Linked DNA regions of Homo sapiens: regions 1 and 3 are each linked to region 2. The links are contacts of gene promoters, found by promoter capture Hi-C in human tissues and cell types (Jung and others, 2019). All regions are on one chromosome and are shown on one strand. Each heading gives the region's core, a stretch centred on a gene start or on the middle of the fragment in contact. The rest is flanking DNA. Distances are from core to core; before and after follow the strand shown.

Evidence for each region. Contacts are between HindIII fragments. The study calls those that stand out against the background at their distance.
Region 1: a contact is called between a fragment that was not itself captured here and the fragment with the promoter of SPATC1L in region 2, in 2 of the 25 tissues and cell types used here (H1 embryonic stem cells and IMR-90 fibroblasts).
Region 3: a fragment that was not itself captured here is called in contact with the fragment with the promoter of SPATC1L in region 2 in 2 of the 25 tissues and cell types used here (IMR-90 fibroblasts and pancreas).

The regions. Positions count from the first base shown.
Region 1 is chr21:46,114,426-46,117,661 of GRCh38, forward strand. COL6A2 (collagen type VI alpha 2 chain) reads left to right here. Exons shown (of 28, transcript NM_001849.4): 6 at 1,447-1,500; 7 at 1,584-1,628; 8 at 1,952-1,978; 9 at 2,226-2,252; 10 at 2,345-2,389; 11 at 2,975-3,028. Among named protein-coding and RNA genes, the nearest start is that of COL6A2, 18 kb to the left of the region's middle. The HindIII fragment of the contact is 7,903 bases long and covers 1-3,236 here.
Region 2 is chr21:46,181,631-46,185,895 of GRCh38, forward strand. SPATC1L (spermatogenesis and centriole associated 1 like) reads right to left here and starts at 2,829. Exons shown (of 5, transcript NM_001142854.2): 1 at 2,726-2,829; 2 at 994-2,144. The coding sequence starts at 1,186. LOC124905045 (a long non-coding RNA gene) reads left to right here and starts at 2,917. Exons shown (of 2, transcript XR_007067914.1): 1 at 2,917-3,557. RefSeq lists enhancers at 891-1,494, 1,495-2,098. The HindIII fragment of the contact is 12,071 bases long and covers 1-4,265 here.
Region 3 is chr21:46,256,607-46,260,817 of GRCh38, forward strand. It overlaps MCM3AP (minichromosome maintenance complex component 3 associated protein), which reads right to left. Exons shown (of 28, transcript NM_003906.5): 15 at 4,187-4,211; 16 at 2,333-2,485; 17 at 183-380. Among named protein-coding and RNA genes, the nearest start is that of MCM3AP, 27 kb to the right of the region's middle. The HindIII fragment of the contact is 8,306 bases long and covers 1-4,211 here.

The DNA.
Region 1 (3,236 bases), core at 735-3,234, 68 kb before region 2:
AAAAAAAAAAAAAAAGAAAAGAAAGCCACATTTAAGGCCAGCTGTATCTCAAATTGTCTCAACACTTCTGTCCCTGGAGAAACTAAAACTCTATATGTCTAATTCCTTTTAAATAGTATATTGAGAAAAGCAGAAGCTTGTAAAAAATGAGATATGCCATTAAAATACTTTGGTAAGCAAGCATATTCAAGTAAGTAAAATGTGAGATGCACTACACTTAATAATATGATTGCTCATTAATATGAAGGAACCTCTTTTGTGGCTTACTAAATAAGCAGTTTTAGGGAGCCTGGTTTGAATGTCCCCTGCATTTTCTGGTTTGAACATCCCCTGCATTTTCCTAACAGAGGTGCATCAAATAAAGTCCTTCCAAAACTCACTAACAGAGTATGTGAAACTCCAACAATTCACATCTGTTAAAAATTATAAAGAAAAGCATAGGAGGAGAAAGTAGCTTCTAAGGAGATGAAATAAGGAATTGACCATCATAGAGGATGTTACTGCTACGTAGCTTCGTGTTTTTCTAAATTTGGATAACAGCTGTCTAGACCAGTAGGTATCTGGATGTACTTTCTCCAGGATGAGACATCTCGAGGCTGCAGGTCAAATCCTGCCATCTCCCTCCCTGGCTTCTCCAGTCCTGGTGGCAATGCCGACCCTACTACAGCTGGGAATGAATTTGCCACTTGGGGCAGCCTTGGCTGCACACAGCAGTGCAGTGACCCGTTCTGTTGGGGGGGCCACTGGAAGCTGCCACAGGGATCACTGTGGTTAGAGTTTGAGGGGTGGCAAGGTGCCAAGCGGAGCCCAGGACAGGGCACAGCTGTGATGTTCCAGAAGCCTCTGCCCACCTCATCCCCTGCCCTGAGTTTCCTCCCTTTTCTTCCTTTTGACCTCTTAATTCTTCCCCTTTCCTCTGCTCCTCTTTGCACTTAAATTGGGAGCATATCAATAAATAGATGAATTTATTTAATAAAGTTCTGTATCATAGGTTAAAATTTTAATTCCAAGAGAGTGTAACCTTTATGTGGTGTTCTGAAGTCCTGATCTGTCTAAAGTTACTTAGATAAAGGAATTAATCTTTGTAGTGACGGTGACCCAGGCATCGCTGGAGAATCAGAGCCCAGTGTTGGCCACAGTCACAGCTACTGGGTGCAGAAGGGACCCCCACGGGCCAGGCACCCCCACCCCAGGGGTCTCTTCTGGCTCCATTTTGCAGGTGGCTTTGTGGGAAGCTTCCCTCAGAGCTGGGAGAAATGGGTCAAAGCAAACCCTTGTCTGACAGAGGCTGGCCCTTTGGGGAGCAGCTGACACCAAGACTTCTCCACTTGGGCAGGGGAATCAGTAACCTCTGCTGTGTCACCTCTCAGAGGAGCTGTGGCAGGGTCCCCAGCTGCCTACCGCCCACCCTACCCTGCCTCGATGTACTCTTTTCTCTGCTTTTAGGGTGCCAAGGGCAACATGGGTGAGCCGGGAGAGCCTGGCCAGAAGGGAAGACAGGTGAGTGTCCTTGCCCCACGCCCGCCCCGCCTGCAGCCCAGCGCCCCAGGGCTGGGCTCACACTGCTGCGTTGTCCTTCACAGGGAGACCCGGGCATCGAAGGCCCCATTGGATTCCCAGGACCCAAGGTGAGTGACCTCGGCCAGGGGCTTGGCTCCACCCTGAGGCCCCAGCACTGCCAGGCAGGCTCCCCCCAGCCCAGCCTCGGCCTCAGCCTCTACGACCCTCCCCCCAGTTACCAAGGAACAGAAGCACCTCGATAACTTGATGGCCGTCCCAAAACCCAGCCTCCAGCCCGACCCAGGGCTCAGCCTCCTCCGCAGACTGTTTGTCGAGAACACTAGATGCCAGCGGCCCACCGAGCACTCCCCTCAGCCTGCAGGGCTGGCCCTTCCCTGCCTGTGTCTCTGCAGAGCTCCTCACTAATGCCCCTCTCTCCTCCTGCCCCCAGGGCGTTCCTGGCTTCAAAGGAGAGAAGGTGAGGCTCTTGCCCTGACAGACCTCAGACCTGCGCCAGCCTCGGCCCAGACCCACCTCTTGGCGTCCGCCGCAGCCTGTCACTGCTCCTGGGGCACCGGCCTGGTCTTTTCTCAGTGGTGGCTTTGGGGGCTCCTGGGGGGTCCTGTGGCCTTGAGTTTGGCCCAAGGGCTTTGCCCCCCAGAGGCAGCAGTGCCCATGATGCTTTGAGGCACCGAGCTCACTGCGCCGGCTTTCCTCCTACACAGGGTGAATTTGGAGCCGACGGTCGCAAGGTAGGCTGGCTGGGTAGGCAGAGCCCCTCCTTCCTGCTGCTCAGGGCAGAAGGACCGGGGCTAATGGAGTTCCCTCTTCCTTCTCTCTTCAGGGGGCCCCTGGCCTGGCTGGCAAGAACGGGACCGATGGACAGAAGGTAGAGGGAGCCTCGGGCTCACAGCTGGACTGGTCTCACAGAGGCATCCCAGCCTCTGCAGGGCCCCCAGATCCAGCCTGATCTGTCAGCTTACACATGTGTACACACGCATACACACACACACACACACACACACACACACGAACTTCAGCTCCTGCCACATCCCACTGCCCCACCCAGGGCTTCACCAGCCTGCATCTAATTCATGGCTGCACATCCCGGCTTGGGGCAGCTCCACAGCTGCACACAGAGGCCAGCAACAAGCCTACCCACTCCCAGGTCAAACCACAGGACAGCCCCACCCACTCCTTCCATGGCTCCCCGTGGGAACATCCTCTGTGCCCAGGGAGCTCTGCCCTCAGGGCCTCTGGGAGGCAGCCAGGGATGGCCTGTTCCTGCACAACGGCCACTCTGCCTCCCCGGAGACAGCTCCACAGCAGCCGTGGCCTCATGTGGGCACCCGTGTGCCAGGAGGAGAGCGCTGCAGCCCTGCGGGGCAGAACCGGGTGGGCTGTGTCTTGGTCGTTGGCACACATGGACCCCAGAACCCCGCCCTGAGACTCCTCCTGCCCCCTTCTCCTTCAGGGCAAGCTGGGGCGCATCGGACCTCCTGGCTGCAAGGGAGACCCTGGAAACCGGGTAAGGGCCGTTTGCACCCCTCCTTCAGCCTCGGCCCAGGGGGTGTGGGTGCCTGACCGGGTGGGAGGGTAGTTGCTGCTGCAGTGGGAGCGTGGGTTCTCCCGGCAGCCCAGCAGCCCCAGCCCAGCAGCCCCAGCCCAGCATTCTGCCGGGTCGGAGTCATGTGAGGAACTCCCCCTGGGAGCTCCTGGCGGATCCCCGTGGCCTG
Region 2 (4,265 bases), core at 1,579-4,078:
ACAGGTGCTGGAGCGGCCCCTTGGTGAGTGGCAGAGCTGGCCTCCCGGGCATGGCTCGTGCTCGCAGACAGCAGTGTTCACGGGCACTGGCGAGGCTGCCTGCTCCATCGTCCAGGACCAGGCAGGCTGACCACGTCCTTTCCGGGCCCGGCCCGGTGGGAAGCTGAGGTTGGCCGTGGGAATCCCAGGCAGTGCTGGGTCAGGGACTCTGTCCTCTGCCCACCATCCCAACAAAAAGTCAAGGGTACATCTGTCAGCCCCACCCCAAATCACATGCAGGAACGGGTAATGTTTTTCCCAAACCTTTTAGAATAAAGCCTACTACTTTGCAGAAAGTGACCAAACCCTATATATATACTTTTTTCAGTAAAAAGCCACAGAAGGTCGGAGTCAATGCTATGTGGTGAGTGGATCATGGCTCCACACTCCCAGCCCCGCAGGGACAGGCGCCCACTTGTCCCTACCTGCTCCCCTGGCCGGTGGCTCTGAGGCCTCCCCAGGGTGGGACCTTCCCACCATGGGGCTGGCCTGGCTCTGGCCGGGGACATGAGTGGATGGGACACAGCACTCATGGGACTCGTGTGGCTGGTCTGACACCCCCCTCGCCCCTGACCCAGGAGAAGAGACACATGCAGCAGAGCAAACTGCCAGCCAGGACCAGCCTGGAAGAGCTGCCTGGGGCCCTGGAGGCCCACAAGCCTGCGCGCCACCTGCTCTACCCCTATGGGGACACTTCCATGACTGCAGCTGACCAGTCCACCTGCCAGCGGTTGACCACTCCCACTTCGCCAGCGACCGAAGGGGAGGGGAGGGGCCTCACCTGAGGGCAACAGCAGAACCCACCACCTGGTCTTGCTTTACTCAGACCTGAGGGTGTGAAAGGTGCCCGTGACCTCCCGCATCAGGGAGCTGGCCGCCACCCTCGACTCCCGGGGAGCAGGCGTCCCGCGACCCCCTCATCTACCAGGCCATCTGAGCTGGGCGGCGCCTCACCTCCGCTCCCGGGGGAGCCGGCCTCAGGGTAGGCATGCGCCCTGGGTGGGAGCAGGTCGTGGCCGCCGCCCTCCTGGCAGCTCTGGCTGAGCAGCCGCCGCAGCATCTGATTCTCCTTCAGGAGGCGCACCTGCTTCTTCAGGTCCGCGTTCTCGCTCAGGAGCCGGCTCATCAGCTCGCCGCCTTCAGCCATGGCGGGTGCGTCCCTCCTTGTCCCTCACGGCTCCTGCAGCCCCATGGAGGTGGGAGCCCAGAGCCCGCAGGCACCACAGAAACAGCCCAGGCACGGAGTTCCGTAGCCACCACCGCCTTCCACGCCTTGTGATGTCACTGCCCTAGTGATGAGGTGCCCAGCACCCTGCCTGCCCCCGCGATGGCTCATGGCCCCGTTGAGGCAGTGAAGCTGGAGGCCCGTGGCGTGCACAGGCAGCCACTCCCACATTATGACCAGGGCCCGAGAATGCCAAGGACATTAGGCAGCTACGGGATGTAGCGACTGTACTCCAAGAGGGGCGTCCAAGCCACTCCCCATTGAGCGGCCCAGCCAGGGTCGGGTGTCCACCCTGTGTGGTGTCCTCAAGCTGGGTGGGGACGCTGCCTTCACCCGAGTAACATGTGGGCTGCACTTCCCATAGGACCTGCCCAGGACACAGGGTTCCCAGTGCAGCTTCCTGTGGACCCTGGCACCCAGGGCAGCAACTGATGTGCAGGTGTTCATCAGGGTCCGTCCTTGGCACCCACACTTGAGGAGGGAGGGACTGGCAAGGGCAGTGGGAGGAGACCAGCATGTGGGGGAGACCAGCCTGGTGGGGAGACCAGCTTGTGGGGGAGACCAGTCTGCGGGGGAGACCAGCCTGGGGAGGAGACCAGCCTGCAGGGGAGACCAGCTTGCGGGGGAGACCAGCCTGCGGGGGAGACCAGCCTGGGCGGGGAGATCAGCCTGGGGGAGGAGACCAGCCTGGTGAGGAGACCAGCCTGGGGGAGGAGACCAGCCTTGTGGGGGAGACCAGCCTGCGGGGGAGACCAGCCTGGGCGGGGAGATCAGCCTGGGGGAGGAGACCAGCCTGGTGAGGAGACCAGCCTGGGGGAGGAGACCAGCTTGCGGGGGAGACCAGCCTGCGGGGGAGACCAGCCTGGGCGGGGAGATCAGCCTGGGGGAGGAGACCAGCCTGGTGAGGAGACCAGCCTGGGGGAGGAGACCAGCTTGCGGGGGAGACCAGCCTGCGGGGGAGACCAGCCTGGGCGGGGAGATCAGCCTGGGGGAGGAGACCAGCCTGGTGAGGAGACCAGCCTGGGGGAGGAGACCAGCCTTGTGGGGGAGACCAGCCTGGGGGAGGAGACCAGTCTTGCGGGGGAGACCAGCCTAGGGTGGGGAGACCAGCCTGAGGCAGCCCCACGATGGCCCCCACATGCTTTGGAGCACTGGGTGGCCCTGAGGGCTGGGCTGGAGGCCACCTACTGACCTCACTCCCTGATGAGAAGGGTCCAGCAGTGCATGTCCACCCCTCAGACCACGAGCGCCCGTGTCTAAGACACCAATTGTTCCTGACTGCACTGCTCCTGCCTGCACGTAACTGAGGACGCCCCCAACCCATGGCCACGGCCCCTCGGGCCGTCACACAGGGCTGCGGCTCATGGGGCCCTGCTAGAGCAGGCGTCTGTCCTCAGTCAGTGCGACCGACTTGAAACCCACCCTGACTCCCTGCTTCAATTACTTGGGAAAGTAAATCACCTCAGTGTTGTTTCTTGGCTCCGAGGGTCTTGTTTTATCAGCAGCCGGGATGCAACAGATGGGTCATCTCATCCTCATGGGAAGGGACGTACGGCAGAAAGCACAACCCAGTGGGCCGGCCACACCTCCAGCCCTGTGACGGGCACCCACCACCACCAACCCAGTGGGCCGGCCACACCTCCAGCCCTGTGACGGGCACCCACCACCACCAACCCAGTGGGCCGGCCACACCTCCAGCCCTGTGACGGGCACCCACCACCACCAACCCAGTGGGCCGGCCACACCTCCAGCCCTGTGACGGGCACCCACCACCACCAACCCAGTGGGCCGGCCACACCTCCAGCCCTGTGATGGGCACCCACCACCACCACCATCCCAGTGGGCCGGCCACACCTCCAGCCCTGTGACGGGCACTCAGGACCACCAAGGGCACTCAGGTGCAGATGCCCCTGGGAGAACACCACCTTCATTCAGCCCGGGCGGCCAGATTAGGGGAAGGTTGCTTCTAGGAGAGAAAGTCTTGAGTCAGGCTTTGTGGAGAAAGGAGGTTTCTACACCCCAAGCGTTCCTGACACAACCCAACCAGCCTGGTGTTGCACCACAGGGCTCACACCTCAGATCAAGACAACGGGGGCCCAGCCACAGCCCACTGACGAGGGCATGCAGGGCGTCCAGGATGCAGGGCAGAGAGAGAAGCGAGGGATGAGTCACGGATGCGCCCCCCGCTCTGAGCCCGACGGGGCCCTGAATGGCTTTTCCTGCCCTGGCTCCTCCCATCATATTTTAAATGCCGTCTTCCTCCCGCTCCAAGGAAACCTTCTCTTGACGTCAGGTACTCTCCAGCCACGGACCTATCAACATTCTGACAGTTTTCTGGTCTTGACACATTATCCTTTTAATATAGCGCTGGATTCAATTTATTAATATTTTAAGTATTTTTATGCTCACAGGGGAAGTCGATCTGAATCTCCTTTTCTTGTGATGTCTCGGTCTGGCTTTGGAACACTGGCCTTTTAAAATGAGCCGCAGAGATTCTGCGCCATTTTCTGGGTGTTCCTTCTTAAACGTCGGATAGAATTCATCTGTGAAGCTATCTAGAACTAGATTTCTTCTGGAAAAGTTTTAAATTTCTAAATCAATTTCTTAAATAGATACAACGCTACTTATATTTTATATTTTTCCCTCATGTGCGTTTTGCTGACAATTGTGGCTGTCAGGTAGTTTGTTGATAATAGGGGAGGCTGTGCATTTGTTGGGGCAGCGAGTGGGGAAATCTCTCTATCTTCCTCTCAATTTTGCTAAGAACCTAAAACTCCTCTTAAAAAAGTCTTGAAAAAGACAAAAGCACGAAGGAAACCAGAGAATATTTCAAGTTGAATGAGAATAAAAACATGACATTAGAATTTGTGGGGTGTAGTTAAAGCTTGATGCCCGTGCTCCACAACCACAGGAAATGGACAAACCCTACCAAAGTTATCAAAAGAGAAGGACACCCCATCTGTAGAAAACAGTCAGAAGATTAGGCAGATGTGGTGGTGCG
Region 3 (4,211 bases), core at 1,712-4,211, 75 kb after region 2:
CAACTGTGGGAGACAACCTTCAAAATGCAACCCTGTGCCTGTCCTCGCCTCCAGGCTTCACCTATCTTCGCCTCCAGGCTTCACCTATCTTCACCCTCCAAACACACACATTAATTCCGCTCCTGGTAAAACCAAGTGGGGGCAGGGGAGCCCTGACGAGGCAGGCGACAGCTGATGCTGACCTGGTGCAGGAGATGCCCAATCTCCCTGCATGGCCCAGGTCCAGGAGGCCCCTGGCCAGGTTCTCTTCAGCAATGGGGCACTCTGCGCTGGGCGCCAGCGCCCTCAGCCGGTCGCTCACGTCCACGCAGCAGGGCGCAGCAGGGAAAGCCCGCATTTGGCGCCTCAGTTTCTTGCGGGCTGTGACAGCTTCCCTCCACCTGGGGACATGAAAATGTATCATCACAGAGTGTTTTCAGGGTCTTCAAACTGAGAAACACATTGCAGTCAGAACTCAGGCATGGGGAAGGAAGGACATCAAATGAGTGTGGTGAGCAATGAAACTACCGAACGTTAACAGTTAATACTGAATGAGCTTTGGAGGCTGACTTGGCAATATGGATACAGATTTAAGATACATATACCCAGCTGGGTGCAGTGGCTCACGCCTGTAATCCCAGCACTTTGGGAGGCCAAGGCGGGCGGACTGCCTGAGCTCAAGAGTTCAAGACCAGCCTGCGCAACACAGTGAAACCCAATCTCTACTAAAATACAAAAAATTAGCCGGGCATGGTGGTGGGCGACTGTGGTCCCAGCTACTTGGGAGGCTGAGGCAGGAGAATCCCTTGAACCCAGGAGGTGGAGGTTGCAGTGAGCCGAGATCACACCACTGCACTCCAGGCTGTGTGTACCAGCAAGGCTCCGTCTCAAAAAAAAAAAAAAAAAAAAAAAAAGATACATATATCCCTTGACCCACAGCCACCACTGATAGGAATTTATCTCCACACACGTGCCTGTGTGCAAACGGGTGAGATGTCTGTCTGTACAACAACAGTCACTGCAACAGTCTTTACCAGAGCTAAAAAGAGCTACGTCCAGGCTCGGTGGCTCACGCCTGTAATCCCAGCACTTTGGGAGGCCGAGGCGGGCGGATCACGAGGTCAGGAGTTCGAGAGCAGCCTGGCCAATATGGTGAAACCCCATCTCTACTAAAAATAAAAAAAACAAAATTAGCCGAGCATGGTGGCGCACGCCTGTAGTCCCAGCTACTCAGGAGGCTGAGGCAGAAGAATCACTTGAACCTGGGAGGTGGAGGTTGCAGTGAGCTGTGATTGCGCCACTGCACTCCAGCCTGGGCGACAGAGTGAGACTCCATCTCAAAAAAAAAAAAAAAAAGAGCCACATGAAAGTCCATCAACAGAAGACCAGGAAGGTCATTTATGGTACATTATCGCACTGACCTCAAGACCACTGGCAACGGGGACAGCTCAGCATGCTGCTACAGCCAAGCCTCCACCTCATATCAGATGGAGCAAAGGAAGGCTCAGAGCAAAGCAGGGATCATGAGCCCATCTGTGCCAAGAGCCACAAGAAAGGACAGAAAGTCTCTGGATGGTTTCGCAAGCAGCTGCTGCTCGCACAATGGACAGGGGTCTGTTGTAGAAGGAAGACTCACTTCTCCCCATACTCCCTTTTATACTGTTCCAACTACCAAGGACACTATTACTGATTTTAAATTTTATTATGAAATGAATCATACAACATACGTAACACATATATGCCCAGTTATAAGATTAATAAATCATCAAGCACCTGTGCACTTACACCCAGTTGAGAAGTTGTGGCCATGAGAGGCACCACCTCCCATTCCCAAAAGTAACCACTATGCTGAGATTATGATCATTATTTTCCTTCTTTTCTTTAGGGTTATACCACTATATATAAATCTGAAACAACCTATTTAGTTTGAATATACACTATTTGTATATTCCCTATTAATTGCTTTTTCTCCACTACTTATATTTTGAGAATTCACCCTTATTGGTGCATGCAGCCATAATCTGGCTTGTTCATAGCTGTCTCCCAGCACCTAGTGCAGTGGGCAAATGGCAGGCACCCTATAAATATCAGTTGACATACAGAGTAGCCACCACGTCCCAATCTAACTCCTGACTTTTCCCCTTATATTGTATGTGTGTGTGTGTGTGTGTGTAATCAAGTATTTCTGAAATGCAGTATAATCCAATTAGTCTATTTTAGGTATTCATTGCTATAACATTTTCCCTCATCCTTTTACCACTGAATACAGAAACTAATAGCTCATATATTTTGAATTTGTTAAAAGACTCTTCCCCGTGTGTGTGGATTTTGCCTGTAGGAACACAGGACTCACCGCTGTAGATACTTGCAGAAGCACTGAAGCTCCTGGAGGGTCTCCTTTGCAGTCTGGAAGATTTCCTCCACGAGAAACAAGTCCACTAAGTGGGCACAGACATCCTCACAGCAACGGGCCACACGGACCCTCTGGTCTGTCTCTACTGCATTCCTAGAAACAGGGCAATCAGCATGGAAGACACTGCACTTGGGGCCCACAGACACTGAGGGCTTGCTTGAAAAGTGCAAGAGTCAGTCAGGCGCGGTGGCTCACGCCTGTAATCCCAGCACTTTGGAAGGCCGAAGCGGGTGGATCATGAGGTCAAGAGATCCAGACCATCCTGGCTAACATGGTGAAACCCTGTCTCTACTAAAAATACAAAAAAATTAGCCTGGTGTGGTGGCGGGCGCCTGTAGTCCCAGCTACTCGGGAGGCTGAAGCAGGAGAATGACGTGAAGCCGGGAGGCAGAGCTTGCAGTGAGCAGAGATCGCGCCACTGCACTCCAGCCTGGACGACAGAGCGAGACTCCGTCTCAAAAAAAAAAAAAAAAGAAAAGTGCAAGAGTCGGCCAGGCACAGTGGCTTACACCTGTAATCCTAGCTCTTTGCGAGGCCAAAGCAGGCAAATCACTTCAGGTCAGGAGTTCGAAACCAGCTTGGCCATCATGGTAGAACCCCGTCTCTACTAAAAATACAAAAAATTAGCTGGCGGCCAGGCACGGTGGCTCATGCCTGTAATCCCAGCACTTTGGGAGGCCAGGGCAGGCGGATCACGAGGTCAGGAGATCGAGACTATCCTGGCTAACACGGTGAAACCCCGTCTCTACTAAAAATATGAAAAATTAGCCAGGCATATTGGCAGGCTCCTGTAGTCCCAGCTACTCAGGAGGCTGAGAATGGCGTGAACCCGGGAGGCGGAGCTTGCAGTGAGCCGAGATGGCACCACTGCACTCCAGCTTGGGTAACAGAGTAAAACTCCATTTCAAAAAAAAAAAAAAAAAAAAAATTAGCTGGGCATGGCGGTGCATGCCTGTAATTCCAGCTACTTGGGAGGCTGAGCTAGGAGAATCGCTTGAACCCAGGAGGCAGAGGTTGCAGTGAACCCAGATCACGCCACTGCACTCCAGTGTGGGCGACAGAGCAAGACTCCGTCTTTAAAAAAAAAAAGTGCAAGAGTCTGCATCCTCAGTATTAAAATGTAATTCTATCTTCATTGTAAAAGAAGCTTTAATACTTAAACTACAGACACCTAGAAAGACAGGGTAAAAAGAATTAAGTGGAACAGGGTGCCAAATTATAGGTCCATAGGGGCCCTCGTAACAGTTAAGAAATAAACCTTTATCTTAATAAAATAGTCAGAATTTTTAATTATTTTAGAGACAGGGTCTCACTATGTTGCCCAGGCTGGAGTACAGTGGCCACCACAGGTGCAGTCATAGCACACTACCTGGAACTTCTGAGCTTAAGTGATCTTTGCACCTCAGTCTCTTGAGTTGCTGGGACTACAGGTGCCTGGCGTAGAATTTGTAAATTACCATGCAGACAACCACAAAATCTTCTCATCAGCAACATCTGACTTGTGCAATCAATTGGAAGTGTCTCAAATATATGATAAATGCCAGTGGCTAATAAGGATGGCTGACTATGATCATGTGGTGGCAGCCCTCATATAAAAGAGAATTTTTTATAATAAAATTCTATTAGCCAAGGGAGCACAGAGGACTGCATCAAATACATTTGGTCACAAAATCAAAGTAGCTTAGACAGGCAAGATCCATTTCCAATAGCCCATCCTCAGTGGTGCAAGACACAGCCTAGGGCAGAGCCAAAGCTCACTCTCCTGGCACAGCAAGACACCAGCGTTTCACTTACTTCAACTCCTGGGAGCAGGTTTCCC